2 separate regions of the Homo sapiens genome follow, and region 1 is linked to region 2. The links are contacts of gene promoters, found by promoter capture Hi-C in blood cells and fetal thymus (Javierre and others, 2016). All regions are on one chromosome and are shown on one strand. Each heading gives the region's core, a stretch centred on a gene start or on the middle of the fragment in contact. The rest is flanking DNA. Distances are from core to core; before and after follow the strand shown.

What was found. The method cuts DNA at HindIII sites, captures the fragments that hold promoters and counts their contacts. A CHiCAGO score of 5 or more calls a contact.
Region 1: the fragment with the promoter of GTF2I here is called in contact with the fragment with the promoter of LAT2 in region 2 in 1 of 17 cell types (neutrophils); the score reaches 6.5 in neutrophils.

Annotation. Positions count from the first base shown.
Region 1 is chr7:74,656,134-74,658,971 of GRCh38, forward strand. GTF2I (general transcription factor IIi) reads left to right here and starts at 1,585. Exons shown (of 35, transcript NM_032999.4): 1 at 1,585-1,935. RefSeq lists silencers at 1,135-1,294, 1,665-1,844, 1,865-2,154, 2,225-2,744 and enhancers at 1,375-1,494, 1,515-1,564. The HindIII fragment of the contact is 31,155 bases long and covers 1-2,838 here.
Region 2 is chr7:74,208,640-74,211,643 of GRCh38, forward strand. LAT2 (linker for activation of T cells family member 2) reads left to right here and starts at 1,367. Exons shown (of 14, transcript NM_032464.3): 1 at 1,367-1,449. RefSeq lists enhancers at 851-960, 2,181-2,300 and silencers at 1,241-1,290, 2,401-2,490. The HindIII fragment of the contact is 29,775 bases long and covers 1-3,004 here.

The DNA.
Region 1 (2,838 bases), core at 335-2,834, 450 kb after region 2:
GAAGTCCACAGCAGCTGAAATCTGCATCTCGTAGGCTGGCTGCTCTTACTAGAGTGAGTTATAGGCTTCTCAAGAGTTAAATTTGTTCCTAAATATATGCCAGTGGCACGTGGTATTGGGAATAGAGAATTTAATTAAATATTACTAAATGTCAATGAAATACAAGTGCAAAAAGAAAGTTGCTCTTGTGCAAACTTAATGAATGACTTTCGAGACAATCGACAAAGGAGAGTCACAATCTTATTAGGCAAGGACCGAAGGGATCCTAGACATTGTCCGGGAAATCGCAAAAATTCAGGCTTCTGTAATCAGATTGCTTCTCCGGTGAGCTTTACGCTCTCCATGTATTTTTCAAAAAAAATCCAACATGAAAATTCTAGAGGAGGCTTTATTGGGTGCGGTCTGTGCAAGAGAGACGATGGGGAATGCCAATCGGAGAACCCAGATTGAAAGGAAAGGTTTTTGGAACCCACATCAAAAGACTGGCTGCTCGGAAAGTTTTCTCGCTAGCGACAAAGGCTTGGAGGCTGGAAAAAGCGTCGTGGTCGCCACCTACCGAGAAGCGGCGGGTGGGGGGAGGATGGCCGTCGTGGCCCGAATCCCCAGTGGGTGGTACTGGGTGGGGGGGCGGGCGGGAATCAAAAAACCACTCAATCTCGTGCTTTACATAAACATCTAAAAATCGTCGGCCTCGGGGTTGTAAAGTTTTGGAGTTTAACTTAGGTGAACAGTAATGTCTCTCCATTTTCAAAACCCACCGGCTAATTCAAGTTGAGAAGCAAAAAATAGTGGTAGGGGGAGGAGTTTGAGTTAAATCGCATCGCGGTTGACAGAACAAAACAGGAGCTACGAGTCAGGATTTCTGCTCCCACTCCCTTGCAAGTTTCCTTCCAAATCCTGAGGGAGAGATAGAGGCGGAGGGTCTGGGGGAGGAATTAAAACACAAGGTCTCCTCCCCTCTCGCCTGTCCGAACTTGGGGGCAACGGTCTCTTTGGAGGCCAGCTTGGAAAACACTAGAGAGGAGTTCTTTGTGTCCTGGAGGGTGGTGCAAGGCGGAAGGACTCCCCTTTTGCAGAGCAAGGAGGGCGACGGCCCAGCCCGGGGCTCCCCGGCTTTTGCAGCTTCCCTGCCTCGCAATTTGCAAGGAATGTGGGGTGCAAGAGCAAGTGGCGGACTTGGACGGCGGCTGGCGCTCGGTGGGGACGACGCCGGAGCCACCACCCGTCCAGATTTCCGTTTCTGCACCCCGGCTCCCCTCCCCCACCCGGGCGGCCGCGCAGGCCCCAGGTGCAGCCATGTTCTCGCTCCCACCACCCTCGCCTCCATTGACAGCCCTTGCTGGAGAGGGCCGGGCGCCGCGCTTGCCTCGTCCTCGGGTTCGGGGCTAGCCGGCGCGGTGCTTCCTGGGAGTTGTAGTCCACGACCGCCGCCGCCGCGTTGACGGGGAACGCATCCGAAACTACAACTCCCGCTGGGCGGCGCTGCGGATGCGCAGGCGCAACGCGCCTTCGAGGAACAAAAAAAAAAAAAAAAAAAAAAAAAAAGAAAAAAAAGAAAAAAAAAAGGAGGAGGAGGAGGAGGGTGAGAGAGAAGCTGGGAGAGCAGAGAAAAGGGGCCACCGGTCGCCCCCCCGCTTCCCCGCACGCGCTCTCCAGCCGCGGCCGCCCGCCTGCCGCGGTCACCCCGGCCTCTGCCTCTGTCCCCCAGTGATCGGATCAAGGCGCTGAGCGAGGCCCTGCCTGCGGGGCGGCCATGCGGCGGTGACAGGAGCGCGACCGACACGCACGGGCCCCTCGCCCCCTCTCGCCTCCCGTCCGCTCGCCAGCTCCCCTCAGCCGAGGCTGCTCCGCGGCGGCCGCAGCCCGCGCGCGGCCCACACTCGCCTCCCCTCGGCACCCCCGGCCCCGGAGCTGCCTGGAGGCGGCCGCACTCGGGTGAGTCCCTCTCGCCTCATCCCCGCGCCCCCCGCCCCCGCCTCGGGGGCCATTGCGAGCGGGGGCCTTTATTAGAGACTTTGCCCCGCCGGGGCCTGCAGGGACAGGGGCCTGGGAGCCGCGGCCCGCCGCGCGCGGTGTGGGGCCTTGGGGGGCGCCCGTGCCGCCTCCCCCTACCCCCACCCCCACCGCCTCGCCGGGTCTCGAGCCCCGCCGGCCTTGGCAGTGGCCGAAACGAGGCGATGGGGGTGGGGCGGCACGGACGCGGTCGCGGGGGACGACAGTGGCACGCGCGCGCCTCAGTGCGCGTGGGGGAGGGGCGCGCGCGCCGACCGGCGTGCGGTGGGGGGGCGCCTCGCGCGTGCGATCCCGCGCGCGAGCGAGCGAGCGGCCCTGCGGGCTGCGCATGCCCCGCCGCGCTGATTGGCCGGCTAGGCGGTGCGGGGGCGCGCGCGGTGCCAGGCCCGAGCCGTCGTGGGGTCGCGCTCGCCTGGTGTATCTGGGGCTCCTGCGCCGGGGCAGCAGACGCGCGGGATTGGCCAACCGGCGCGGGGGCGGGGCCGCGCGTTGCCTGGTAACTGCGGCGGGCGGGGGAGCGGGAGCGCTGTCCCCCGCCCCGCCCCGCTCCCAGGTGGAGTCCGCAGTGGGCTTTGTCCCGGGCCGGCCCGGCGCGCCTGCCCCGCGGGGCCTGTTCTTTGGGGGAAATAAACACAATGACCGGAAGGAAAACTTCAGCTTTAGGCCATGAAAATTAAGCCGTCTGGGTTCAGCCAGCACCCAGACGACGGGAGTGCAGAGGAAGAAGGAAAATGAAATGGAAAAAGCTGTCTCCTTCCCGCTCCCCGACTTCTCCACTTTTTCTTAATCCAGCTTTTGCTTTTTCGTGTAGCGAATTTTGTCCTC
Region 2 (3,004 bases), core at 117-2,616:
CTGGTCTCAAATTCCTGTTCTCAAGCGATCCTCCTGCCTCAGCCTCCAAAAATGTTAGGATTGCAGGTGCAAGCCACTGCACCTGGCCTCTATCTCCCTGTTTCTTGCTCTCTCCCCATCTGTGTGTGTCTCTGACAGTCTGTGGCTCTCTGTATCTTTCTGTGTGTCTCTCTGTGTGTGTCTTGGTCCATCTCATGCCCAGCTAATTTTTAAATTTTTTGTAGAGATGGGGTTTCACCATGTTGGCCAGGCTGGTCTTGAACTCCAGACCTCAGGTGATTCTCCTGCTTCAGCCTCCCAAAGTGTTGGGATTACAGGCATGAGCCACCGTGCCTGGCCCATGGGTATGAATTTCTGCCTGTGTGTGTCTTCTTCTTTTTTTTTTTTTTTTTGAGATGAAGTCTTGCTCTGTCACCCAGGCTGGAGTGCAGTGGCGCTATCTTGGCTCACTGCAACCTCCACCTCCTGGGTTCAAGCAATTCTCCTGCCTCAGCCTCCCGAGTAGCTGGGATTACAGGCACCCGCCACCACACCCAGATAATTTTTGTATTTTTGGTAGATATGGGGTTTCACCATGTTGGTCAGGCTGGTTTTGAACCCCTGACTTCATGACCTGCCTGCCTTGGCCTCCCAAAGTGCTGGGATTACAGGCATGAGCCACCGCGCCCGGCCCATGGGTGTGAATTTCTGCCTGTGTGTGTCTTTTTAGCGTATGTGTGTCTCCATATCTGCCATCTGCAGGAGCACCTCAGTTTCATTATCTTGCTCCCTGTCTATTGGAGTGTATCTCTCTTCCTCTCTGTGTGACTTTTTGTGTTTATGTGTGTGTTTAGTGTGTGTCCATATTTTCCTGTTCTCTTGTGTCTCTCTGCTGTGTCTCTCTCTTTTTCTTTCTGTTTTTTGAGACGGAGTCTCCCTCTGTCACCCAGGCTGGAGTGCAGTGGTGCGATCTCGGCTCACTGCAACCTCTGCTTCTGAGGTTCAAACGATTCTCCTGCCTCAGCCTCCCGAGTAGCTGGAATTACAGACACATGCCACCATGCCCAGCTAATTTTGTATTTTTAATAGAGACGGGGTTTCACCATGTTGGCCAGGCTGGTCTTAAACTCTTGACCTTACGTGATCCACCCGCCTCGGCCTCCCAAAGTTTTTGGATTACAGGTGTGAGCCACCTCGCCCGGTCCTATCTCTCTTTCTTCTCTTTCTCCCTCTCACTTTGTTTCTCTTCTCTCTCTCTCTCCCGCCTCCTTCCCCCGTCTCCCCTCCCTTCCCCCCACCGCCCTCTTCATAGCTGAGCCTGTCCGGCAGTGCGGCGGATGTACGGATGATTCAGTGGCTGGCAGGAAGCCCGCCCTGCCCGCCCGCCAGTGTCAGTGGTGTTGGCATCAGCTTGGGCAGGTGTGCGGGCTCAGGATGGGGCGGCCGTGGTGAGGAACCCTGGACTCTCAGGTAAGCCTTTCCCAGGGGTGCCTCAGTCCTCAGGCTGTCCCCCATCCCCCAGGAGCTCCTGGCCCCACTGGGTGGGGTGGGAAGAGGCCTGGATGCCTGGCGCCCCCTCCCGCAGCCCCACTCTCACCCTGGCACCAGGCTCTGTGGCACTTCAGGGGTCAGTTTGTTTCTGGGCTTCTGGCCACTCTCTTGCCCTCGCCTTCCCCTGTCCAGCCTGTGTAGCCTTGGGACATCCCAGGGTGGTCCCATCATTGCCAGAGACTGGTGAAGTAAGTGGCCGAGAGCCAAAACAGTGGCTGCCCTGGCCTGGGAGCCTCGGTTTCCTCATCCGTGAAATGGGACTGTAACCCCCTACACAGGTCAGGGGAAAACGGTGGGATTACAGGCCAGGGCCCAGGTCTTGCCCCAGGTCAGGTGAAGAACCCCCACTGCCTCCCTGCCCAGCCCCCTACCTGGCCCTCAACTCTGTCCCTGGGACCAGGGCTGCTCAGGCCCCTCCTGCACCCGCCCGCCTCCCTCTCTCCCTCCCAGCTAGGCTCATTTGAAGCCCAGAGTTATTTGGAAAAAGCAACAGGACCAGCCGGGCACGGTGGCTCAACCTGTAATCCCAGCATTTGGGGAGGCCAAGGCGGGAGGATCATTTGAAGTCAGGAGCTGGAGACCAGCCTGAGCAACATAGTGAGACTCCCATCTCTTTAAAAAATAAAAATAAAAAAATATAATTAAAAACTAAATGAAAAAACCAACAGACCCCAGAGCAGAGTCCAGTGGATAAAGCCATCCAGGGCTTCAAGCCAGGCTGCCCCCTCCCCAACCCCAGTGTCCCCAACCACAGCTCAGCTCGGAGAAGGCTGGGAGAACCGGCAGGGTGGTCTCGAGCGTCCTTCCAGGCGGGATTCAGACACTGTAGCTCCTCCAGCCCAGCCCCGAGAACTTCCCCGAAGCCAGCTCTTGGCAATCGTTGTTCATATGAAAACTGCCCACTTCCCTTTAGTGCTATTTTGGCCTCTGCAGAACCGTGGTCTGTGGCAGCCCCCACTCCCCACCCCGCCCAGCCCTGCCGGCCCCTGGGGGCCTCAGAGGGTCCACCCTCCGCTCCCTCCACCTCAGCCCACCTGCTTTCAGAACCTGGATGGGAGAGTGAAAGTGAGAGCGAGACAGAGACACAAAGGGAGACAGAGACAGAGAGAGAGCACAGAATTTTTTTAAACGGAGTCTCACTCTGTTGTCCAGGCTGGAGTGCAGTGGCGTGATCTCGGCTCACTGCAACCTCCACCTCCCAGGTTCAAGCAGTTCTCCTGCCTTACCCTTCCAAGTAGCTGGGGACTACAGGCACGTGCTACCACACCTGGCTAATTTTTTATTTTTTATTTATTTTTTATTTTTTGGAGACAGTCTTGCTCTGTCTCCCAGGCTGGGAGTGCAGTGGTGCAATCTTGGCTCACTGCAAGCTCCACCTCCCGGGTACATGCCATTCTCCTGCCTCAGCCTCCCGAGTAGCTGAGACTAGAGGCGCCTGCCACCACGACCGGCTAATTTTTTGTATTTTTAGTAG